Linked DNA regions of Homo sapiens: all the other regions are linked to region 3. The links are contacts of gene promoters, found by promoter capture Hi-C in blood cells and fetal thymus (Javierre and others, 2016). All regions are on one chromosome and are shown on one strand. The core of a region is centred on a gene start or on the middle of the fragment in contact, and the rest is flanking DNA. Distances in the headings are between cores, read along the strand shown. Region 1 overlaps CLPB (ClpB family mitochondrial disaggregase). Region 2 overlaps CLPB (ClpB family mitochondrial disaggregase). Region 3 holds the start of NUMA1-AS1 (NUMA1 antisense RNA 1). Region 4 overlaps CLPB (ClpB family mitochondrial disaggregase). Region 5 overlaps CLPB (ClpB family mitochondrial disaggregase). Region 6 has its middle 4.4 kb from the start of CLPB.

Region 1 (4,335 bases), core at 336-2,835, 330 kb before region 3:
TTTACCCAGGACCATTCATCTGTTTTGTCATGCATCCTCAATTCTGGGACAAACTTGGTGAAATCCTCAGAATTAATGAGGGAAAAGCATCTTGAAAAAAATGGAATCACTAGCAACAGCAAGGAGCTCTGGGTCAAAGTGGTCCTCCTGGTGTTTGTAGTCTATCCCTGTCCTCTCCCCTTCCTCCTAGCCTCCCACCACCTTTCCACTTTTATTTTTGGTGATGGTTGCCTGGTGACTGTGGTTGGGCATAAAAGAAGGTGCATAAACTGGAAGAGTCCTTGTTGGCAGAAGCTTCTGGTTTTTTTAAAAAGCAAATGTTTTATGAGGGAGATGAGTAATTCCTTCAGCCTTGAATGAAAGCAGGTATCAGCAGATAAAACAGTTCCTGTTCCCAGAACCGTAGCCTATAACATTTGATATTATAGTTGAAGATACTACCTCCCCCACCCCCACATTTCCGATTCTCTCCATATAGGGAAGTGCAATTAGCAAAAAATATTTCATTGGTTTCTGTTGCTGTGAGTGTTCACAAAGGCAGCCATAAATAAGGCTTCCTATCTTCCTTGAGTTCAGACTGAAAGTCTGTATATTTGAGTGTACCTCATTCCAGTGAGCTTGGCTCAACCACTACTTTAATGTGCTGATACTTTTCATCCAAGCAGAGGGCTCTACTTGGCTTTGGGAATAGATGTGTAAGTGGAAGCAAAAGTCATCTCTTGATAACCCCTCTTCTCTGCCCTGCACATTAGGCTAGGATTGGTCAACAGAAGCTTAAACATCTGGTCAGCTCAGTCCTTTGGGGTGGTTGGGGTCTCGTAGACAACCCATCAAGATTGATTGGCCTCATAACTGAATTAGCCAGATGTGTGGGCATTGTGTGCCCTTTCCTCAGCCTCCTTTCAATGTTGTTAGATGGAAGCAGACGTAGGATTAGCATGTTTGAAGATGATGTGTTTTTAGTGCATGAACAAAAGCTGCCGCCTTCTACGGAGACTGTGGCTGTGCCCCAGACGTTAACAGTGTAATTATGACTGCTAAATTCAGCCCAGACCCCAGGCTCGGATGCTTTGGTCTCAGCTGTCATTTGCAGGAGGGAAGACTGCAGAGGCCTGAGGACCCTGGCTCTGATAGTGCACTTTGAACTCTGCTTTATCCAGAGCCTTTCCCTCCCCACTGACAGTTGCTCCTAGCTGCTCTCTGGCCATAGAACCTGCTGCCACCTCTGAGGAGAGTCTGTGCTATACTGTGGGGATAAGGAGGAGTAGGGCTGGCCTCTTGAAAGCCCACGACTTCCAGGAAAGTCGTGAACATTTTCATTTTGGGACTTGTCCAAAATGAAAATGAGCTAAGGATCCTCACTTCTTTGCCTGTGTCACATGCTATTCAGAGCATTATCCACCGTTAGAAAACCTCTACGTTAGCTTTGCATTGACCAGAGATCCTTGGCAGGAGTTTTTGCTTTTGCTGTTTTCCTTGTCTAACTCTGTTATGTTTGAATATTCATTTCCATGGTTTTTATACCACCTCTTTCTAACCACACTGATCTACCTATTTTCCGTAGAACAAACCAGGCATTTTCATGTCTTCCATAGCTTTGTTGATGCTTAATATTCCGTAGACATCTCTCATCCTCAATGCGTCCAAATCCATACCTCCTCACACTTTCTTCCATGTTCTCTTTGATGAATAGTATGGTTGTCTACTGGTCGCTCAAACTAGGAAGTGTTATGTCTGATGACTTCTCCCTCACTTTCCACCAAGCCCTGTCTTTCTTAGAATTTCATCTTAAGCCCATTCTCTCCTCTGTCCCCACTTCTCTAATTCAGGCTTCATCACTCTCACCTGGACTATTATAACAGCCTTGTTCTTCCTACCTCTAGGATCCCATCAAACCAGCCTCCATCTCACAAAACCATGTCACTTTCCTGCTTTAAAACCTTCAGCAGTTCCCACTGCCTATAAATTAAGCCCAGATGTTTAACCCAGCATGCAGTCACTCTAAAGTGACTTCTGCCACCAGTTTCCAAGAGAGGATGAGGATGATGGTTTGCTTCAGGATTGGGATCATCCTGTGGGCCTACCAGGAGGATGCCTGCAGCCAAGTAGGCCTGGGAGACAGGAACTGTCTCTGCCTATGGCCCACTGAACTGTTCACTACCTAGCATAGTTTTTCCTGCCTCCAAACCTGTCCTCATTCACTTTGCCTGGAATATCCTTTCCCCACTTCTCCACCTATCAAACTCCTACTTAGCCTTCAAGATCCAACTCATTTATATCTTTAATGTATAACTTTCCATGGTTGGCCTACATGAAGTGAATCACTTCTCACTCTGTTCCCCCACAGCAATTTTAGGAGACTATTTTATTGTTTTAAAGATTGCAATTGAAGCTTCAAAAAACAGAGCTTAACATGAATCTCCTCCTTACACACCCTCTTCCTCTTGCTCCTCTGATTCTGCTGCTGGTGGCCCTGACCAGATCTCTAACCTGGGAAGGCCATCCAGTCTCCCTTCTGTCTATTAAGGAGGTAGGGTAGCCGGCTCCCTGTTCAACACCCTATCCACTGTAGGAAGGAATGGTTAGTAATAGTAATTGAAGGAAAAATAACAACAGTTACCATTTTTTGATAAAAGCTCTGGACTAAGGCTTTTCTCTCTTTTAATACTTAAAATAACTTGCCAGGCGCGGTGGCTCACGCCTGTAATCCCAGCACTTTGGGAAGCAGAGGTGGGCGGATCACGAGGTCAGGAGATGACCATCCTGGCTAACACAGTGAAACCCCATCTCTACTAAAGATACAAAAAATTAGCCGGGCGTGGTGCCAGGCTGAGGCAGGAGAATGGCGTGAACCCAGGAGATGGAGCTTGCAGTGAGCCGAGATCGTGCCACTGCACTCCAGCGTGGACGACAGAGCGAGACTCCAGCTCAAAAAATAATAATAATAACTCTGCAAGTTAGGGACTCTTATTATCTACATTTCCATATGCATAAACAAGGGCACCAAGCAGTTCAGTAACAACCAAGGTTCACCACTAAGTGGCAGAGCCATTGTGTTATTATAGCTATGATTAGGATCTCATAAGCAGAATTCCAGTGTATGTTCCCAGAGCTCTCTAGGGTCCACCCTGTCCTCTGTAGGGTCTGGCATAAAATAGGTAATCTAGAATGTTGGTTGGTTGCTTGGTTGAATGAATGAATGAATCAGCATTCTACCCATTGAACTTGCCTTCAGGCGTAAGAGGGACTGGCTGAATGTCTGTAGCTTATGCCAAGAAGTATGGATTTTGTCTCATCTCCTAATGCCCAGCTGTACACAGACATGTTCCCTCCCACTCAGTAACAAACTGCCTGGAACTCTTTCCTGGCTCATATTTACAAGAGAATGTGATAAATTCCGTATCGATCCCTCCTGTTCCACTGTAAATTTTGCAAAAGATGATTAAATAGAGCAATAGAGTCTGCAGGCATTGTGGCTCAATATGTCGTGGACTGGTGTATCGACCTCCTCCATCCAAAGGCAGCCAGCGCCTATCTCTGCTGCCCCAAACCAGTAATTAAAATCCTGTGAGACTGGGATTTAAAATCCAATCATATCCCTGAATCAAGCCTTCTAGCCTCCCCGTGTGACGAGTGCAATAAGGTAACGGCAGGAGCATGTTTATGTCTGTGTTGAAGCAGTCCCCATAGGGTGGGTAAGAAATGGAGACTTGGGTAGCCCTGCTGGCTAAATCATTTCACCCTGACACCACAGCCACTTGTAAGACAATCTGTAGGTTCATAAACAAGTCCCAGCCAAAGACCAAAACTCAAGGTATAAGAGCAAAATGTCATGCACAAAAATGCACAAATTCTGTTTCACTGTACACTTACATTCTCACAGCCAGTAGTAAGTTTAAGCAAGTGATTTGGCCTTGATTAAACTGTTACTGGCCTTTAGTAACCAAACGCATTTTTGAATTTCCACAGGAACTCTGACTTAATCTAAACTAAAGCCAGCCTTCCATGTGCTGAGGTCTGTAATCAAAGCACAAGATACTACTGAAATAAACTTGTCCATCTCCCCTCAACTGGATCAGGAACTCCTGAAAAGCAAGAACAGTATCTTCTTACTCACTTTTGTATCCCTAGCACTTACCATGGTGCCAAACACATAGAAGACTCAAAAAAATATCTTTGAATGGATAACAATTAATCTTGAAAAAAAATCTGTAAACCAGTATATAAGTAGGAAACCTCCTAAGCGGTTGTCCATTTAATGCTTGAACACTTTCAGTGCTGGAGAACTCAGTTGCTCTTGAGGCTGCTCATATTCTATTTTCGGATGTTCCCATG
Region 2 (4,361 bases), core at 1,226-3,725, 380 kb before region 3:
CCAAAGCTTTACCAACATTCTACTAGGACAATCCTTTTGCCAGCCCTAGTAACAGCTTGGGTATAGTATTGACTCAAGGAACAGTCATTGGGGTCTGGCCCCTTCTCCACAGTTAGCCCTCTATAAGCCTCATGCCACAAGGCACTTGTTTAGCCTGAGTCTGGGTGTCTCATTCTATATTGCACTCTGACCCAGTCCAGCTAAAGGCTAAGCCACAGGGTCCCAGAATGATCACTGTGACTTAGCGTAGCCTTCACCGGCTTGTGCAAATATACACAGCCTTCAGCTAAATTCAATTAGTTTTTCTTTAAGAAGGAAAAGAAATCCAATTTTACCAAACACGGACAGACGGTGGAAGGCACTTTGATGTTACAACCTCTCGGTGATGCTTTACTTAGTCACAAGTTCATAAGCAAGAAGGCTTAATTACTTGGGAAAACACAGGATTAAAACTGGACACAATGGCTGAGTATCCGCTCTCGGGCGACTTGATTCGAACCCATGCACCCAGTTCGTGTGTGGTGCAAACTTTGATGTGTTCTATGACAGGCTGAAAGTCATGACCCCCTTGGGGAAGCTCCTTCAGATGGCATTTGCAGGATGTGTAGGCGGAGAGGCAGGGCCTGCCAGGCCTGTTTGCTCAACTTTGATGTCCAAGCAGCCACAGGCCCCACTATTTGCTCTTCCACTGAGGGATGGATTGGGAGCCTCCTACCTTTCCCAGTGAACAATGGCCAGCAATGGAGTGTGACGACTGTTGACCATTCCAGAAGTCTGGTGGACCAGAACAGGGCTTTGGGAGGTGCAGAGCCTGGGGGGCCAAAAGCTGTTCATAGGACAGTCATTTCTCCAGATGTAGCTTTCCTTAAAGCTCTGGTATTGTTAGGTGCTTGCAATGGAGATAAAAATAGTCTCATGAGTTTTAGCACGGTTTAAGTACTTCTTGGCCCTCTGTTCCAGCAGCACTAAGATGTTTGTAAATTAGAAGTTTAAGTTGTTCCTAGTCCCTTAATTAGAGTATATGTGCAGAGGATAGTGGTTTAGAAGAAAAATTGTAAGACTTAGATTCTTATAATTTCTAATTCATAAAAAAGGAGCTGTAAAAACATGTATCTTATAAAGCAGTAGTACCCAGAACATATAAAGAAGTCTTACAAATCAATAATAAAAAAAATCTAATTTTTTTAAATGGGCAAAATATTTTAGCAGATGCTTCATCGAAAAAGAGATGGGTGGCAAATAAGCACATGAAAACATACTCAGTGCAAATTCAAGTCACAATGAGATACCACTACATACCTGCTACAGTAGCTAAAATTTAGGAAAACTGACAATACTAAGGGCTGACAAGGATACAGAACAATATTGATACATCACTGATAGGAATGCATAATGGTATAGCCACATTGGAAAACACTTTGGCAGTTTCTTATAAAGGTAAAGTATACATTTACCATACCACAGAGCAATAGCAACTCCTAGGTATTTGTCTAAGAGAAATAAAAATGTACGTCTGCAAAAATACCTGTATGTAAATATTTATAGCAGCTTTATTCATGACCACCAAAAACTGGATATAATGCAATGTCCATCAACTGGTGAATGGACCAACAAATTGTGGTATATCCATACGGTAAAAACAGCCAAACAAACAATGACAACAACAAAAGCACCATGCTAAGCTAAAACCAACACAAAAAGCTACCTGCTCTGTAATTCCATGTATATGACATTCTGGAGAAGACAGAACTTTAGGGGCAGAAATCAGATTGGTGGTTGCCAGTGTTTGGGAATGGGAAGAGAATATAAAGGAACTTTTTGGGATGATGGAGAAATATTCTGTATCCTGATTATCATGCTGGTTACATGAATGTATATAATTATCAAAATTCATTAAATTATATATCTTAAAAAGGATGAATTTTACTCTGTGTAAATGTGATACTTCAGTAAACTGACTTTAAACACTTTTTAAAAAGCTGTCATCCCTCTCTAATTTTCATTATTAATTGTGACCAGTGGCATACTGAGAATTTGTATTAGTAGTATCAAAATTAATTCATATTGTTAATGGTCACCTGGAATGTTTTGAATTCTTATTGTTGATGATATCTCACATTAGAGTGATATGCATTCTGATTTTTAGTAGGGAATGAAGATTTGTCAATTCATACTATCAGTGATGTAATGAAGTATAATTACTGATGAATAGTGATAAATTCACTTTATGAGTAGTGTACAGTGGACTTGTATAAATTCATAAAGTATATGATTCTTCATTCCAGCAAGGAGAAAGTTGAGGTTACAGACTGGGAGCTTGCCTCTCCCACACTATTCTTGGGTTCCTTATCTCTGGACTCTCATGCAGGGACACCACCTATATAGTGAGGCCGTTGTGGTGCTTCAGGAACCAAAGATCCTGAAAAGGGAGGCTGGTGTGGGGAGATTTTGATTTCATCCTGCTTGGGCTTGGTGGTGGCTTTTGCAAGCCTTTGCCTCGGAGAAGGTGAGAACTGCAAGGCAGAGCATGAAGCACATCAGAACTGTTTGAAATTCCCCACAAGAGTCTCCCTCCCTCCTTCTGCCTTTTCTCCCCGAGTGCATTTCATCAGTGTCGGAAGGACTGGTTCCCGGCACTGCCTTCCCTGCTTGGCCAGGGTCCCCGAGGAACTGAGCTAATGAGTGGATAACACGCATTTGCCAAGGCCTTCCTGGATGTGGTACCCGGGCTTTGTTAATTTTAAAGTGCTGCCATCCTTGGCTGAAGACCATTCAATTCCCTCTCACAGCAGTCATTTATTTTTAGCATTTGCTTATTTTCCCTCTGCCTTACTAAGGGGAGAGGGTGCATTAAACCCTTTCTTTAAAAAACCGATAGCCTAAGCCAGATTGCTGTCCTACAGAAGAGGTTTTAAAGGCCTTCCTTTGTGGACCCCAACAGCTCCATGGGTGTTCTTAGAGCGAAGAGCAGATGCTAATCTTGCAGCTAGACTACTGGCAGCCTCCCTGGGAGGCTCTGCTTCCTTCCTGGCTAGCTATACGTGGAGCAGGTAGAGTACCAGTGTACCTGTGCTTGAAAGTAGGTCCTTAGGGAACCTGACCAACCACATGGAAGTCGGTCCTGCCTTAGGGGCACAGAGCCTTTTCCGTCTTCTAACCTATTCTTGGTCTGGCTTCGTGCTGTAGAGTAGGGCTACCTTCTGCCCAAGGAGGCTGGGCTTTGTGCTGTGTGATCTCCTGACTGTAGTAATGATGATGGCAGTAGTTGATTGGGTGCTTTCTGTGTGCCAGGCCCATGTCAAGCACTTCCCATGTTGGGTCTAATCCTCAGGGCAATCTTGAAAGGAAGGGATTATTATTCCTATTTTACAGATAGGGAAAATGAAGCTCAGAGTTGTCCAAGGTTGTCCAGCTAGTAAAAGAAGGAGCCAGGATTTGAAGCTGGGTCTTTCTGAACCCCAAACCCTTGCTCTTTCCACTGGACTACACTGCCTATGGAGGGAAGGGGCCGGGAGCAAGGCCATGGGATGGACCGAAGGATGCTGGAACCAGGAGTCAAGTCGGCTCTATCAGGGTTTCTTGATGACCCATGATGTATTATATGGATTTTGAGAACTGTAAAAACAGACAAGCCACTCTCCTTGTTCTCAGAAAGCTGACACTCAGAAAAGGGATAAAAGTCCCGCTTTGGAGAATGAGGCAGAATGTGTTCAGTGCCACAGAGAAGAACACATAGAGTGCTGTGGAGGAGATGATGCTGTGTAGAGCCAGCATCATGAAAAGAGGCCCTTTCAGAGGAGTTGGGCAGGATTTGATTGGTAACATAGGGAGTAGGGGGAGAGCATTTGCAGAAGGACCATTGTGAGCATAGGCTCACAAAGGTGGAAAGCAGAGATGTGCTCGTAGAAGCAACCGGCAGGGAACCCAAGAACATGGGACCCCTGAGCAGGGTACCTTGATATAGGCTGGCTTTTGTTACAGGTGGCCACCTGCCCAGTGCAGGACAGTACCCAGTATTCCCCAGCAAGGAAGGATGGGTGAGGGTGCTGGCCAAGTGCCCAGAATGCCAGCACCGCAGCACCGTGCCCCCAGGAAAGTGTTGGGCTTGACGTTTCTCCCACCCCTACTGCTATGGCCGATTATCTCTGAGTAAGAAAGAGTCATTTCTAATCCCATTTGGAATCGTTGCTCAAGATAATCCTGTTTTGTGGTAATGATATTCCAATTCCAGCATGCACTCGTAGTTTGGCAGACACATGCCTCAACCTCAGGCAACTCAAGACGCTGCTCCCTGGAAATCAGTGCCAGCTCATTTGCCTAACGTGACAGTCTCAGGGTATACTTCCTGGGCCCAATGCTCT
Region 3 (4,199 bases), core at 1,497-3,996:
CACTCCAGCCTAGGCGATAGAGCGAGACTCTGTCTCAAAAAAAAAAAAAAAAAAAAAAAAATTAGGGATGAACCCAGCATAGCCTATTGTAGGTGCTTAGTGAACAGTGGTGAAGAAGTGGGTTTGGGACTGGGGGTTGCTGCAGCTGCTGCCAGTGGTATTGCTGCCCAGAGGATGGTGGGCAGCTGGTGGTGATTTGGATAATCTAGGACTCAAGACTTATCTGAGGAAGGGTATACGGTAAGGAAATTTGAAGTAAACTCAGCAGCCTTGGGGAAGTAGTAAGCAGGTTACATTATGACTTTATTGTGCCTTAGAACTAGGTCTAGAGAATCAGGTCCCTCATGCTCCCAGTTCCATGGTTTCTGCTTTTTTCTAGGCCAGGGCAAAAGGAGATCTTGGTAACAAGATGATGGGCCCCATGTTTGCTGATGTTTATGAGGGCTTGTGTGGTAATCTGGTGCCTGTTCCCCCTCTCTGTTCACATGGGTCTCATTTACTCCCAGAAATGCCTTGAAGAGAAGAACGAAATCCTTCAGGGAAAACTTTCACAGCTGGAAGAACACTTGTCCCAGCTGCAGGATAACCCACCCCAGGAGAAGGGCGAGGTGCTGGGTGATGTCTTGCAGGTAGGAATGCACAGAAAGACCTGTGTGCTGCTGGTTGGTGTGGACTCACATTCAGTACATTTGGGTTCCTGGTGTTCCTCCATTTCCAGAGGAGTCTTGATGACTGAGGAGTCATGCTGATCCCAGTTTGTCTCTTTATACCACCAGCTGGAAACCTTGAAGCAAGAGGCAGCCACTCTTGCTGCAAACAACACACAGCTCCAAGCCAGGGTAGAGATGCTGGAGACTGAGCGAGGCCAGCAGGAAGCCAAGCTGCTTGCTGAGCGGGGCCACTTCGAAGAAGAAAAGCAGCAGCTGTCTAGCCTGATCACTGACCTGCAGAGCTCCATCTCCAACCTCAGCCAGGCCAAGGAAGAGCTGGAGCAGGCCTCCCAGGCTCATGGGGCCCGGTTGACTGCCCAGGTGGCCTCTCTGACCTCTGAGCTCACCACACTCAATGCCACCATCCAGCAACAGGATCAAGAACTGGCTGGCCTGAAGCAGCAGGCCAAAGAGAAGCAGGCCCAGCTAGCACAGACCCTCCAACAGCAAGAACAGGCCTCCCAGGGCCTCCGCCACCAGGTGGAGCAGCTAAGCAGTAGCCTGAAGCAGAAGGAGCAGCAGTTGAAGGAGGTAGCGGAGAAGCAGGAGGCAACTAGGCAGGACCATGCCCAGCAACTGGCCACTGCTGCAGAGGAGCGAGAGGCCTCCTTAAGGGAGCGGGATGCGGCTCTCAAGCAGCTGGAGGCACTGGAGAAGGAGAAGGCTGCCAAGCTGGAGATTCTGCAGCAGCAACTTCAGGTGGCTAATGAAGCCCGGGACAGTGCCCAGACCTCAGTGACACAGGCCCAGCGGGAGAAGGCAGAGCTGAGCCGGAAGGTGGAGGAACTCCAGGCCTGTGTTGAGACAGCCCGCCAGGAACAGCATGAGGCCCAGGCCCAGGTTGCAGAGCTAGAGTTGCAGCTGCGGTCTGAGCAGCAAAAAGCAACTGAGAAAGAAAGGGTGGCCCAGGAGAAGGACCAGCTCCAGGAGCAGCTCCAGGCCCTCAAAGAGTCCTTGAAGGTCACCAAGGGCAGCCTTGAAGAGGAGAAGCGCAGGGCTGCAGATGCCCTGGAAGAGCAGCAGCGTTGTATCTCTGAGCTGAAGGCAGAGACCCGAAGCCTGGTGGAGCAGCATAAGCGGGAACGAAAGGAGCTGGAAGAAGAGAGGGCTGGGCGCAAGGGGCTGGAGGCTCGATTACAGCAGCTTGGGGAGGCCCATCAGGCTGAGACTGAAGTCCTGCGGCGGGAGCTGGCAGAGGCCATGGCTGCCCAGCACACAGCTGAGAGTGAGTGTGAGCAGCTCGTCAAAGAAGTAGCTGCCTGGCGTGAGCGGTATGAGGATAGCCAGCAAGAGGAGGCACAGTATGGCGCCATGTTCCAGGAACAGCTGATGACTTTGAAGGAGGAATGTGAGAAGGCCCGCCAGGAGCTGCAGGAGGCAAAGGAGAAGGTGGCAGGCATAGAATCCCACAGCGAGCTCCAGATAAGCCGGCAGCAGAACGAACTAGCTGAGCTCCATGCCAACCTGGCCAGAGCACTCCAGCAGGTCCAAGAGAAGGAAGTCAGGGCCCAGAAGCTTGCAGATGACCTCTCCACTCTGCAGGAAAAGATGGCTGCCACCAGCAAAGAGGTGGCCCGCTTGGAGACCTTGGTGCGCAAGGCAGGTGAGCAGCAGGAAACAGCCTCCCGGGAGTTAGTCAAGGAGCCTGCGAGGGCAGGAGACAGACAGCCCGAGTGGCTGGAAGAGCAACAGGGACGCCAGTTCTGCAGCACACAGGCAGCGCTGCAGGCTATGGAGCGGGAGGCAGAGCAGATGGGCAATGAGCTGGAACGGCTGCGGGCCGCGCTGATGGAGAGCCAGGGGCAGCAGCAGGAGGAGCGTGGGCAGCAGGAAAGGGAGGTGGCGCGGCTGACCCAGGAGCGGGGCCGTGCCCAGGCTGACCTTGCCCTGGAGAAGGCGGCCAGAGCAGAGCTTGAGATGCGGCTGCAGAACGCCCTCAACGAGCAGCGTGTGGAGTTCGCTACCCTGCAAGAGGCACTGGCTCATGCCCTGACGGAAAAGGAAGGCAAGGACCAGGAGTTGGCCAAGCTTCGTGGTCTGGAGGCAGCCCAGATAAAAGAGCTGGAGGAACTTCGGCAAACCGTGAAGCAACTGAAGGAACAGCTGGCTAAGAAAGAAAAGGAGCACGCATCTGGCTCAGGAGCCCAATCTGAGGCTGCTGGCAGGACAGAGCCAACAGGCCCCAAGCTGGAGGCACTGCGGGCAGAGGTGAGCAAGCTGGAACAGCAATGCCAGAAGCAGCAGGAGCAGGCTGACAGCCTGGAACGCAGCCTCGAGGCTGAGCGGGCCTCCCGGGCTGAGCGGGACAGTGCTCTGGAGACTCTGCAGGGCCAGTTAGAGGAGAAGGCCCAGGAGCTAGGGCACAGTCAGAGTGCCTTAGCCTCGGCCCAACGGGAGTTGGCTGCCTTCCGCACCAAGGTACAAGACCACAGCAAGGCTGAAGATGAGTGGAAGGCCCAGGTGGCCCGGGGCCGGCAAGAGGCTGAGAGGAAAAATAGCCTCATCAGCAGCTTGGAGGAGGAGGTGTCCATCCTGAATCGCCAGGTCCTGGAGAAGGAGGGGGAGAGCAAGGAGTTGAAGCGGCTGGTGATGGCCGAGTCAGAGAAGAGCCAGAAGCTGGAGGAGAGGCTGCGCCTGCTGCAGGCAGAGACAGCCAGCAACAGTGCCAGAGCTGCAGAACGCAGCTCTGCTCTGCGGGAGGAGGTGCAGAGCCTCCGGGAGGAGGCTGAGAAACAGCGGGTGGCTTCAGAGAACCTGCGGCAGGAGCTGACCTCACAGGCTGAGCGTGCGGAGGAGCTGGGCCAAGAATTGAAGGCGTGGCAGGAGAAGTTCTTCCAGAAAGAGCAGGCCCTCTCCACCCTGCAGCTCGAGCACACCAGCACACAGGCCCTGGTGAGTGAGCTGCTGCCAGCTAAGCACCTCTGCCAGCAGCTGCAGGCCGAGCAGGCCGCTGCCGAGAAACGCCACCGTGAGGAGCTGGAGCAGAGCAAGCAGGCCGCTGGGGGACTGCGGGCAGAGCTGCTGCGGGCCCAGCGGGAGCTTGGGGAGCTGATTCCTCTGCGGCAGAAGGTGGCAGAGCAGGAGCGAACAGCTCAGCAGCTGCGGGCAGAGAAGGCCAGCTATGCAGAGCAGCTGAGCATGCTGAAGAAGGCGCATGGCCTGCTGGCAGAGGAGAACCGGGGGCTGGGTGAGCGGGCCAACCTTGGCCGGCAGTTTCTGGAAGTGGAGTTGGACCAGGCCCGGGAGAAGTATGTCCAAGAGTTGGCAGCCGTACGTGCTGATGCTGAGACCCGTCTGGCTGAGGTGCAGCGAGAAGCACAGAGCACTGCCCGGGAGCTGGAGGTGATGACTGCCAAGTATGAGGGTGCCAAGGTCAAGGTCCTGGAGGAGAGGCAGCGGTTCCAGGAAGAGAGGCAGAAACTCACTGCCCAGGTAAGGTACTCAGCCCAACCACCCTCCCAAAGATCAGGAGCTGAGAGCGCGGGGACA
Region 4 (3,983 bases), core at 40-2,539, 350 kb before region 3:
TTTCTTTTGGATATATACCCAGTAATGAGATTTCTGGGTTGAATGGTAGTTCTGAGTTCTCTGAGAAATCTCCAAACAGCTTTCCATAGTGGCTGAACTAATTTACATTCCCTCCAACAGTGTATAAGCATTCTCTTTTCTCTACAGCCTCACCAATAAGAGCCATTCTGACTGGTGCGAGATGGTATCTCATTGTGGGTTTGATTTGCATTTCTCTGATGATTAATGATGTTGAACATTTTTTCATATGTTTGTTGGTTGCTTGTATGTCTTCTTTTGAGAAATGTCCTTGTCTTTGGCCCATTTTTTAAATGGGATTTGTTTTTTGCTTTGTTGAGTTGTTTAAGTTCCTTATAGATTCTTGGCTGGGTGCGGTGGTTCATACCTGTAATCCCAGCACTTTGGGAGGCTGAGGCAGGTGGATCACCCATGGTCAGAAGTTCAAGACCAGCCTGGCCAACATGGTGAAACCCTGTTTTAGAAAACAGGGTTTTCTAAAAATACAAAAATTAGCCGGGTGTGGTGGTGCACACCTGTAATCCCAGCTATGTGGGAGGCTGACACAGAGGAATCGCTTGAGCCTGGGAGGCGGAAGTTGCAGTGAGCCAAGGTCACACCATTGTACTCCAGCCTGGGTGACAAAATGAGACTCCATCTCAAAACAAAACAAAACAAGACAAAAGACCCACATAAGTTCCTTATAGATTCTGGATATTAGACCAGTGTCAGATGCATAGTTTGCAAAAATATTTTCTCCCATTCTATAAGTTGTCTGTTTACTCTGTTGATAGTTTGTTTTGCTGTGCAGAAGCTCTTTCATTTAATTAGGCCCCATTTGTCAATTTTTGTTTTTGTCATAGTTGCTTTTGAGGACCTAGTAATAAATTCTTTGCCAAGGCTGATGTCCTGAAGGGTATTTCCTAGGTTTTCTTCTAGGATTTTTATAGTTTTAGGTTTTACACTTAAATCTTTAATCCATCTTGAGTTGATTTTTGTATATGGTGAGAGGTAGAGGTCCAGCTTCATTCTTCTGCATGTGGATAGCCAGTTATCCCAGCACCATTTATTGAATAGGGAGTCCTTTCCCCGTTGCTTATATTTGTTGACCTTGTTGAAGATCAGTTGGGTATAGGTGTGTGGCTTTATTTCTGAGTTCTCTATTCTGTTCCATTGGTCTATGTGTCTGTTTTTGTACAGTGCCATGCTGTTTTGATCACTATAGCCTTGTAGTATAGTTTGAAGTCAGGTAGTCTGATACCTTTGGCTTTGTTCTTTTGCTTAGGATTGCTTTGGCTGTTTGGACTCTTTTTGGTTCTATATGCACTTCACCATTTAGAGTATATAACTCAATGGTTTATATAGTATATTCACAAGAGTTGTGCAAACTATTATGACAATCAGTTTTAGGACATTTTTATCACTCCATAAAGAGACCTCGTATTCATTATCAGTCACTCTCCATTTCTCTTCAACTATTCCCAGCTCCTGGCAACCACTAATTTACTTTCTGTCTCCATAGATTTGCCTAATCTGGACATTAAATAGAAATTGAATCTTATTTTATTTTTTGAGACAGGGTCTTGCTCTGTCCTCCAGGCTGGAGTGCAATGGTGTGATCACGGCTCACTATAGCATTGACTTCCTGGGCTTAAGGGATCCTCCATCTCAGCCTCCTGAGTTGCTAGGACCACAAGCATGTGCCACCACAGCCCCTAGTTAATTCTGTACTTTTTAGTAGAGACGGGGTTTCACTATGTTAGCCAGGCTGGTCTCGAACTCCCAACCTCAGATGATCCTCCTGTTTCACACTCACAGAGTGCTGGGATTACAGGTAGGAGCCACCACCCCCAGCCTCATTGTGGTTTTGATTTGCACTTTCCTGATAGCCAGTGATATTGAGCATCTGTTCATGTGCTCTTTGGCCATTTGTATGTCTTATTTGGAGAAATGTCTATTCCAGTCCTTTGTCCATTTTTTAAATTAGGTTTGCCATTGACTCTTGTGAGATAGGTGATATTATCTGTTTGGAGATGAAGAAGCTGAATCTCACAGATGTTAATAAAGTCACACAGTCAGTTTTGCTTTCCAGGCTTGCTGACTCCAGCCCCCATGGTCTTTCTAATACACGTTGCTGCCTGCTGAGGAGTCATACTGGGGTCACCAGGGTCCTCTATGTGGCAGGAAGGGAGGAGGAAAGGAAAAAGGTGGGAAGGAAAATTTGTTTGAAGGCTGGGTGCAGTGAGTGGTTCATGCCTGTAATCTTAGCACTTTGGGAGGCTGTGGCAGGAGGACCACTTGAGCCCAGGAGTTTGAGACCAGCCTAGGCAACATAGGTAGACTCCATCTCTCTCTATATATTTTTTTTTAATAAAAAAAAATTTTTTGGCCGGGCGCAGTGACTCACACCTGTAATCCCAGCACTTTGGGAAGCTGAGGCAGGTGGATCATCTGAGGTCGGGAGTTCAAGACCAGCCTGGCTAACATAGTGAAACCCCATCTCTACTAAAAATACAAAATTAGCTGGGCATGGTGGCGCGTGCATGTAATCCCAGCTACTCGGGAGGCTGAGGCAGGAGAATCACTTGGATTGTTGCAGTGGTTGCAGTGTTGCGGAGGTTGCAGTGAGCCGAGATCATGCCATTGCACTCTAGCCTGGGCATCAAGAGTGAGACTCCATCTCAAAAAAATAAATAAATAAAAAGTAATTGGAATACACTTCATGCTGAAGCTCTCTACACTTTTTTTAGTTTGAATGGTGGTGGAAAAGATGAAAATGATGAGATGAAGTAACTCATCCAAGTTGGAAAGTCGGAGACCTTTCTGGTGGGTTGTAGACAACTCCCTCACATACACACACATTGTAGATGCCATTCCTGAGCAGTGGCAAGAAGGGGCAAGTGCTCTGCTTCTAACTGGTGCTGTGATGCCTCAGCAGGGTCTTAATTTGTATAGAGTCTTCAGTGAGAGGAAGCTGAGAGGCCAGAGGCTTCTTCCTAGAGATTCTTGAAAGAAGTTAGCTTAGTCCCTGAGCTTCAGCTGGTATCAACCGACCCTGAGTTATATGAGGCTTGGGCCTGTGGGCATTGGCAGAAGCTGCACAGTACAGAAGATAGAGCAGAGGCCATGGAGCCACTCAGGCTTAGGGTCTAGTCCTAGCCTACCACCGACCAGCATTGCAAGTTGAGCAGGCCACCTAACCTCTTTAAGCCTGTGTTTCCTCATCTGTTCAATAGAGATGATAGTACTTGAACTGTCGGTCCTACATGGATTGTCATGAGGATGAGGGAATGATTGCCTTGAAGTGCTCCCTACACTTTAAAACATGATACAAACATAAGGGGTTATTCTTTTATTTGTCTTATTAGTCATAGAGGTTCCCTCTCATGGAAACATGTTCACATCTTTAAAGGCAAGGGCACTGCTAGACATTCCATAACATTAGATGGCACCGGCTTCTGGGAGTGGCCAGTAGAGGCCGAGAGGGACTCAAAGCTAGGGTTGTCTTCACCTGCAGAAGTGAACAGTAAATAAAGCTTTTGTTATCTAGAGACCACTGCAGGATTTTAACGAGGGTTCAGCTGTCAAACAAGAAACTGCTGAGTGACACCCAGTGAAACAGATGACTCTTAACTCAGAACTCTATTCTTATGCTCACTGTGCCCTCCCTCCTTCCCTCCGTCCCCTCCCCTCCCTTCCCTTCCCTTCCTTCCTTCTTTTACTTTCTCTTTTTTTTTTGAGACAGGGTCTGGCTCTGTCACCCAGGCTGGAGTGCAGTGGCGTGATCTCGGCTCACTGCAACCTCTGCCTTCCTGGCTCAAGTGATCCTCCCACCTCAGCCTCCCGAGTAGCTGGGACTACAGGCATGCGCCACCACGCCCAGCTAATTTTTGTATTTTTTGTAGAGTTGGTGTTTCGCCATGTTGCCCACGCTGGTCTTACACTTCTGAGCTCAAGCGATCTGCCCGCCTCGGCCTCCTAAAGTG
Region 5 (3,921 bases), core at 1,133-3,632, 300 kb before region 3:
CTTCTTCCTGGAATGTCCCATCATACCTGCAAGTGGCTGGCAATCTCCCTCTCACCCTTCAAGCACAAATGTCAGGCCAGCACAAATGGCTCTTCCCATACTTCCCTCTGTGCACCCATCCCGTTTGGAGCCCACAGTTTTCATAGCAGCCTTTACCTCTATGGCACGCACCTTTTTTGAGGCCTCTTTGTGAGAGCCGCCGCACCTAGCACAGAGCTTTTTTGCTAAACAAATACATAAGGCTTCCTGGAGAAGGATTTAGAAGAAAGTGGAAGCCTTCTTCATGCAAGAGTGGTAGTAACTACCTGGGGCACTAAGAGACTCAAGTCTAGGCCTTACTCTTCTCCTCTTCTCTGTAAAATGAGTTGAAGTACCTGTTCTTTCTCCCTTGCAATTTGAGAAAGACCAATAATTCATTTAGTCAGCAAGTATTAAACCAGTGTTGGGCTAGTCTCAGGGGTCCTCAGAAAATAGGGCACCCAGGACACCCAGCACCTGCTCCCATGGAATATGGTCAGATTGGGGGCACACCCTCCCTGCCAGACACAAGGGCACAGGTAGATGAAACACCTTACACTGCCCGTCTCTGAGCCTCGGTATCCTGTGTAAAATGGAGATAACACCTACTTATCAGGATTATTAGGAGGATGAAAGAGTTACTGTAAAATACCAAAGCTAATGGTAACTACCATTGCTGCTGCTATGACTACCATTATTTTTACTCTTATTGTTATCCCACTCCTCGCCACTTACAAATTGCTTTCATCACCATTAACTTGTTTAATCTGCATGTGGGGCTGACACAGTATATGTGACTGTTCCCATTTTATAGAGGAAGAAACGGAGGCTCTAAAGGAATAAGTGTTTTATTTAAAGTCAGTCAGCTGGTAAGTGACAGAGGCGGGACTCCATGCTAGATCCTGTAACTCCTGCCCTCTCCACTATACCACCCGGTAGATGAATGCATGCCAGAGAATACAGACCTGCAAGTTAATGGCTAGATGTGGTGTGGTGGAGTGAATCAAAAAGAGCTGTTGCAGGTGAGTTTTCAGATGGTCCAGTAGTGACAAGCATGGCCAGGAGAAAGCAGAACACAAGCCAGGTGGGCACCCGGCACTACCTGCTGGGAGGCAGAGCAGCCTGCCTGGAGCTTGTGGCGATGGGACTGGCCAGAGAAGGGAGCCAGGCTGCCTGTGCAGAGGGCCCTGACACCATCTCTAGCCCAAGAGCAGTGACCAAGACAGGGTTAGGGGACAGGGGCTCCTGAGGCCATGTGCTGAATGGCTGAGCAGGCCAGATTGGAAGACTACAGAGAACGTTTTCCAAGGAGTCAGGGTGTGAGGAGGTGCTGTGGCAGCGGAGAGTCAGAGGAGGAGAGCTGACCTTCCTCTAAGCTCCCATAGTACAGCGCAGGCTCAGGCTAAGCCAGAACTGAGGGTAAAGCCCAGGGTCTTTGTTTCTTCCCCCTGTAACCTTAAGCAGGTCACCTAACTTCTGCGTGCATGTTTCCTCACCTATAAAATGGAAATCAAGTCCCCTGTTCTGCTTACCTCACAAGGCTGAAATGAAATTATGTCTACAGAAGTTCTTTATAGACAACAATGAAATGTTGAAGTGAGTCAGTTGTAAATACATTTGCTGGCCACAGTGAGAGCAACAACAACTATGGCCACCTCCCACGTGGGCCCATGCAGGTCTCTGTCCCAGCCTCTACTCTGGCCTGACGGGATCCTCAAGGCCCATAGCCTTGGTCCTCGGCCACCCTGCCAACCACAAACACTAGGGCCCGCCTTCTCCAGTCCTTCCTAGCTGCCACCATTTTTCATTCTGTCAGACTCCATCTGCTTGGCTGTTTTTCTCTTCAGATATTATTAGAAATATCCAGAGTTGGAATTGCTTAATGGTTGGCATTTCACCTGTTTCACAGGGGACCCACATCAAGCCCACCCCGGACTCATGCCCTAGGTCGGGCAGAATTGACCAGGGACAGCTGTGCAGTGAAGTCTGCCTGGCATTATAAAGAGCTCTCTCCCAGGTGCATTCTTAGAAAAGAAGCGGGGAACAGTGGCCCCAGGCATAATTCAATTCCTCATTCTCCATGGTGTTTTTGTACTGCACAGCCCAGCAGTGTGCAGCTCTCTGTGGGCTGGGATGCTACCTTAAAAGAAAAGGCAGGATCAGAACCCCAGGTACATGATACCCTGCAGAACCCACGTAGGGGGATGTCTGGGTACATCTCCCTCCCCAAATACCCCATGAAGCTTGAACTCAGTTCATGCTCAACTTGTTTCCAACCTAGACTCTTAATTTAGCCAACTTTTAGAAGAACACGGCTCCTTTCACGTCACTGCTGTCACCCCTGCCCTAACACGTACACACATGTCCACACAGTATTCACAAGTCTAGCCTTTGCCGTTTCAATATCTTCACTTCCTCAGATACCCACACTCTCAGCTCCCTGTTTCTGTTGGACACCAGGGACTCCCCGCTTAGCCAAGCTTGCACTTTTCCCTCTTCATCCCCAGCATTCAGGTACCTATGAGGTCTGTGGGTTCCCCTTATAGCCAGCCTTTCCAGAGATCCTGGGCCAGTTAGTTTAGACAAAATCTGGATTCTTGCCCAGGAGAGAGGTTATACTGAGCTTTTTCTCAGGCCTCTTTCAGGATTCTCAGGGAGCATTTTCTGGGCAGGCAGAAGTGGCTAGTCTGATGTCCATGAATTTGCACAGCTTCCATCTGTTTCTACTGAGGCCAGAAGTAGAGAGAAAGTCGTATTTTAGGCAGGAACATTAGAGATCGAGATGAGAAAGACCACTGGCTTGAGGCTGAACTCCTAAAACAGTATTCCAGACCTTCACAGTCTGGTCCCACCCCACCACTCCTCATGATCATTCCTGTCTCTCCACCTCTGACATGCTGGCCACCTTTGCCTCTTCAAATCCTGCCCATCCTCCATGATCCATCACCAGTCCTGCCTCTTCCAGAGAACCTTCCCAGACCTCTGCAGTCGTTTCTTTGAAATCCAACCACACAGTATAGTAGTTAGGATCTTGGCAACTCAAGATGGGCAGACACATCCCAAACACTGTCAAATCTTTCCCCATTGACTAGTGTTCCAGGCCTTGTTCTCTGACATCTATCCCTTAGCTAATTTTCCCCTGACACCCTGGGGACCAGATCAGACATGCTGTTCCATTTGCAGACTGACCTTGACATTACACAGTACTCTCTTTCCTGCTCCTGACTGCCGTGTTTCCATTAGTGCAACCAAAATTCATACTTTTTTGAGCAGCCATATGTTACTTTTTTAAAAAAAGACGACAGGTTTAGAGAGAGAAGCAACTCTGCCATCTACTAGTTGTGTGACTTGGGCAAGTCTCTATCTGTTGCCTCAGTTTCGTGTTCAGTATAATGGAGTTGAGAATACTACTTTCCTCTCCGGGTATTTGTGTGGGTCTTGAATAGATACGTTGTTGGTGAATTTTCCCATTGTGCTTAGCATACAGCATGTTCAGTGCATGATTCTTCTTGCAGTTCTGCCTCACTCCACCCCCACTCGTATACTTGAGAATGTTTCTGAGCCTGATTCTCCTACTCCATAATTAAGCACTTAGTTTTCTCAGATTGAATGCATAGCCCTTAATTACATACGTCCTCTTGAAGAGGAGGTCAGGTCTTGCTCTAGCAGAGTTGAGCCTCCAAGGAACCTGGTACCTATCTGTCCCACTCCCCGTGCTCCCCACTCCCTCCACCACTGGAGGCTATGGTCAGCATCTCTGGTAACCATGTGGCTTACCCCTTCCATGCCCTGAGCTCCACATTGCCTTTGATTGACTTCCAGAAAATGCATTTGGCTGTGTTTCCACTTTCTGACCCAGACAGTGGACCAGACCTTAGCTTCCCCAGACAGGAAAGAGTCCAG
Region 6 (3,917 bases), core at 1,404-3,903, 420 kb before region 3:
CCGGGTTCAAGTGATTCTCCTGCCTCAGCCTTCCGAGTAGCTGGGATTACAGGCGCCTGCCAGCACGCCTGGCTAATTTTTGTATTTTTAGTAGAGACAGGGTTTTACCATCTTGGCCAGGCTGGTCTTGAACTCCTGACCTTGTGATCCACCTGCCTCAGCCTCCCAAAGTGCTGGGATTACAGGCGTGAGCCACCGTGCCCGGCTGCAGGAAGTACTTTTGAGACTATATAAATTCTGTTTCTCCTCCTTGTCACCCACTAATTTTAGTATCATCTATGGATCTTGCCTGAAATGTTTATTTTTATTTATGTTTTTAGAGACAGGGTCTTGCTCTGTCACCCAGGCTGGAGCACTGTGGTGCGATGAAGGCTTGCTGCAGCCTTGACCTCCTCGCCTCAAGCAATCCTTCCGCCTCGGCCTCCCAAGTAGCTGGGACAACAGGTGTGTGCCACCCTGCTCTGCTAATTTTTTTATTTTATATTTTTGTATAGACAGGGTCTCACTTTGTCGCCCAGGCTGGTCTCAAACTCCTGGCCTCGAGTGATCCTCCTACTGCCTTGGCCTCACAAAGTGCTGGGATTACAGGCATTAGTCACTACATGAGTCACTGTGCCCAGCCTGAAATTTGTATTACTCCAGTGTCTGCCTAGTGGTAATTCTCTATTTCTCTCTTTCTTCTACATTTATTGATTGAACTTCCACTGTAAGAAAGAGCTGCCTCGGGCCAGGCGTGGTGGTTCACGCCTATAATCCCAGCACTTTGGGAGGCCGAGGCGGGCAGATGACAAGGTCAGGAGATCGAGACCATCCTGGCTAACACAGTGAAACCCCGTCTCTACTAAAAATACAACAAAAAAAAAAATTAGCCGGGCATGGTGGCGGGCGCCTGTAGTCCCAGCTGGAGGCTGAGGCAGGAGAATGGTGTGAACCCGGGAGGCAGAGCTTTCAGTGAGCCGAGATCGCGCCACTGCACTCCAGCCTGGGCAACAGAGCGAGACTCCGTCTCAAAAAAAAAGAAAGAAAGAAAGCTGCCTCTTCCCTCATTCCTCCCCTATTTATCTATTTATTTATTTGATTATTTATATCATATTTGTTTTACTCTGTGGATCAAAACCCCATATGGTCATTACTTTTCAGTTAAATTGTTCCTACTTAGGTCATTATGAACTCCTTCACACTGGCTCCTGTGTTCTTTTCACAAGCCTGCATCTGGTTTTGAGCCTTTCCTAACTTCCTGGCACATACGATGTTGTTGACTCATTTTGGATTTTCTCTGCCCAGTCCTGAAAACAACCATTCTCCAAGGGTAACTGGTTTCTGGGTTATTGGAGAATGCTGTTTATGTCTGGGTGTTAGGTGTGTTCAATTTTTAGGGTGTAATTGCTTCTAGACCCTCCCAGAGGCTAGGTAATATATGTAATACACGAACCCATACATACTTACATATTTATATTTCTGTATTGATCTGTCTGTATCTATTTTTAAAAACCATGAGTTTTACAGCTGGGCATGGTGGCTCTAACCTGTAATCCTAGCACTTTGGGAGGCTGAGACAGGCAGATCATTTGAGGTCAGGAGTTTGTGACCAGCCTGGCCAACGTGGCAAAACCATATGGTCAATAACCAATTGAGACCAATCAGGCTGGTTCGAGACCAGTCTGGCCAACATGGCGAAACCCTGTCTCTACTAAAAATACAAAAGTTAGCTGGGCGGTGGTACATTGCTGTAATCCCAGCTACTCAGGAGGCTGAGGCAGGAGAATCACTTGAACCTGGGAGACGGAGGCTGCAGTGACCAAGATCGCGCCACTGCATTCCAGCCTGGATGACAGAGCAAGACTCCGTCTCAAAAATAAATAAAGTAAAAATAAAATTAAAGCCATGAGTTTATGCTGATACATCTGATTCCAATTCAATACCACAAGGTTCATTTTAGCTTTCTTTTTTTCCCTATTTATAACTTCTTTCTCCAACAGTGAAAAGCCCAGCTACTATCTATTTACTTATTTGTTTAAAAATGTGTGTGTGTGTTGTTGTTTTGTTTTCTTTTTCTGGAAAAGTTTTTCTCAGAAACCTATAGAATGTGTAGCACCAAATGGCCTCCAACTCCATGCCAGAGGCAGCTGACCACAGCAACTGCATTGATTCTTCACTTTCTGTCTCCTCCTAAACCCCATTCAGATATCCCCCAGTCACCTTCCTACAAACTAAAACTGGAGTTCTCTCTCTCCCAACCCAACAGTTAGAAGCTTAGGGCCAAGGTGGGGTCATTGGAACCTGATATAAATTTTTGCTTTCTGAGCAGACCAAAAGGAAGCCATCCTGCGTTGAAAATCTGTTAAAATGTGACCTAAGAGTTTTTTGTGTGTTTGTTTGTTTTTTGAGACGGAGTCGCCCCGTCGCCCAGGCTGGAGTGCAATGGCGCGATCTTGGCTCACTGCAACCTCCGCCTCCTGGGTTCAAGTAATTCTCCTGCCTCAGCCTCCTGAGTAGCTGGGATTACAGGCGTGTGCCACCACGCCCAGCTAATTTTTTGGATCTTTAGTAGAGACGGGGTTTCACCATGTTAGCCAGGCTGGTCTCGAACTCCTGACCTCAAATGATCCTTCCAACTCGGCCTCCCAAAGTGCTGGGATTATAGGCATTAGCCACTGTGCCTGGCCCTGGATTGGTTATTGACCATACAGAATTCACTCTGAGTCCCAGCTGATTCTAATGGGTGGGGTTTTTTTGTTTGTTTTAATTTTAGTTTATTTTTCTTTTTTTTGGAGACAGGGTCTCACTCTGTTGCCTAGACTGAAGTGCAGTAGTGTGGGGATCCTCCTGCCACAGCCTCCTGAGTAGCTAGAACTACAGGTGTACACCCCCATGCCTGGCTAATTTTTTATTTTTTGCAGAGACTGTGATCTCACCATGTTGCCCAGGCTGGTCTCAAACTCCTGCCCCAAGTGTTGGGATTACAGGCACGTGAGCAAGCACACACGACCCTAATGGGTGTTTCCATACTTCCTCACTACATCCCCCACTCAGAGATTGATAATTTAAGCTTTTCAGTATCCCTACCAAATACTGATAGTAATTAAACCCTTCCTTGAACCCCTCGCAGATGGTATCTGTGAAAATAAAATAAGAAAATCAATGGGGAAGTGCTTTGAAAATTATGCATTGCTAAGTAAACTGAAGGGCCCTGGGATGTGTCTGCAGTGAGAGGGTTTGAACTCTGCATCTGGTAATGGGAGCTTTCGGAGACTGCTCTTCCTGCTGTGACCACCCTAAGTTGGGAGACAGAAATGTTTCAAGAATACAGGGAAGGTGAAGTTGCTATAGTGAATGGGGTGGTTAACAAAATAATATGTGCTGAAAATCTCTCAAAACAGAAAGGTCAAAATGCTTTCATTATTGAGTGCTTTAAAAATGATTTAAAAATAGTTATTCAAGGCTGGGCACGGTGGCTCACGCCTGTAATCCCAGCACTCTGGGAGGCCAAGGCAGGTGGATCATCTGAGGTTGGGAGTTTGAGACCAGCCTGACCAACATGTAAAACCCCGTCTCTACTAAAAATACAAAAAAAATTAGCCAGGTGTGGTGACACATGCCTGTAATCCTAGCTACTCGGGAGGCTGAGGCAAGAAAAGCGCTTGAACCTGGGAGGCGGAGGTTGCGGTGAGTCAAGATCGCGCCATTGCACTCCAGCCTGGGCAACAAGAGCAAAACTCCATCTCAAAAAAAAAAAAAAGTTATTAAAGCCAGGCGCAGTGGCTCACGCCTGTAATCCCAGCACTTTAGGAGGCTGAGGCAGGAGGACTGCTTGAGCCCAGGAGTTCAGACCAGCTTGGGCATCATAGCGAGACCTAGTCTCTACCCAAATAATAATAATAATAATAATAACAAAAAATTAGCTAGGTGTAGTGGTG

What was found. The method cuts DNA at HindIII sites, captures the fragments that hold promoters and counts their contacts. A CHiCAGO score of 5 or more calls a contact.
Region 1: a fragment that was not itself captured here is called in contact with the fragment with the promoter of NUMA1-AS1 in region 3 in 1 of 17 cell types (erythroblasts); the score reaches 5.1 in erythroblasts.
Region 2: a contact is called between a fragment that was not itself captured here and the fragment with the promoter of NUMA1-AS1 in region 3, in 4 of 17 cell types (M1 macrophages, erythroblasts, megakaryocytes and 1 more). The highest score is 5.9, in M1 macrophages.
Region 4: a fragment that was not itself captured here is called in contact with the fragment with the promoter of NUMA1-AS1 in region 3 in 1 of 17 cell types (erythroblasts); the score reaches 5.6 in erythroblasts.
Region 5: a contact is called between a fragment that was not itself captured here and the fragment with the promoter of NUMA1-AS1 in region 3, in 1 of 17 cell types (erythroblasts). The highest score is 5.8, in erythroblasts.
Region 6: a fragment that was not itself captured here is called in contact with the fragment with the promoter of NUMA1-AS1 in region 3 in 4 of 17 cell types (endothelial precursors, M0 macrophages, erythroblasts and 1 more); the score reaches 11.3 in endothelial precursors.

What each region holds. Positions count from the first base shown.
Region 1 is chr11:72,339,464-72,343,798 of GRCh38, reverse strand. The region is part of intron 5 of CLPB (ClpB family mitochondrial disaggregase); the gene reads left to right. Among named protein-coding and RNA genes, the nearest start is that of CLPB, 93 kb to the left of the region's middle. The HindIII fragment of the contact is 1,619 bases long and covers 776-2,394 here.
Region 2 is chr11:72,394,509-72,398,869 of GRCh38, reverse strand. All of the region lies in intron 3 of CLPB (ClpB family mitochondrial disaggregase), which reads left to right. Among named protein-coding and RNA genes, the nearest start is that of CLPB, 38 kb to the left of the region's middle. The HindIII fragment of the contact is 4,933 bases long and covers 9-4,361 here.
Region 3 is chr11:72,012,838-72,017,036 of GRCh38, reverse strand. It overlaps NUMA1-AS1 (NUMA1 antisense RNA 1), which reads right to left and starts at 2,746. Exons shown (of 4, transcript NR_104178.2): 1 at 150-2,746. It overlaps NUMA1 (nuclear mitotic apparatus protein 1), which reads left to right. Exons shown (of 27, transcript NM_006185.4): 14 at 507-629; 15 at 777-4,142. RefSeq lists an enhancer at 1,345-2,092. The HindIII fragment of the contact is 6,447 bases long and covers 2,741-4,199 here.
Region 4 is chr11:72,362,908-72,366,890 of GRCh38, reverse strand. All of the region lies in intron 4 of CLPB (ClpB family mitochondrial disaggregase), which reads left to right. LOC112268077 (a long non-coding RNA gene) reads right to left here. Exons shown (of 3, transcript XR_007062768.1): 3 at 3,436-3,508. Among named protein-coding and RNA genes, the nearest start is that of CLPB, 70 kb to the left of the region's middle. The HindIII fragment of the contact is 4,492 bases long and covers 1-3,535 here.
Region 5 is chr11:72,309,058-72,312,978 of GRCh38, reverse strand. All of the region lies in intron 7 of CLPB (ClpB family mitochondrial disaggregase), which reads left to right. Among named protein-coding and RNA genes, the nearest start is that of PHOX2A, 67 kb to the right of the region's middle. The HindIII fragment of the contact is 237 bases long and covers 2,264-2,500 here.
Region 6 is chr11:72,436,973-72,440,889 of GRCh38, reverse strand. No RefSeq gene overlaps it. Among named protein-coding and RNA genes, the nearest start is that of CLPB, 4.4 kb to the right of the region's middle. The HindIII fragment of the contact is 797 bases long and covers 2,255-3,051 here.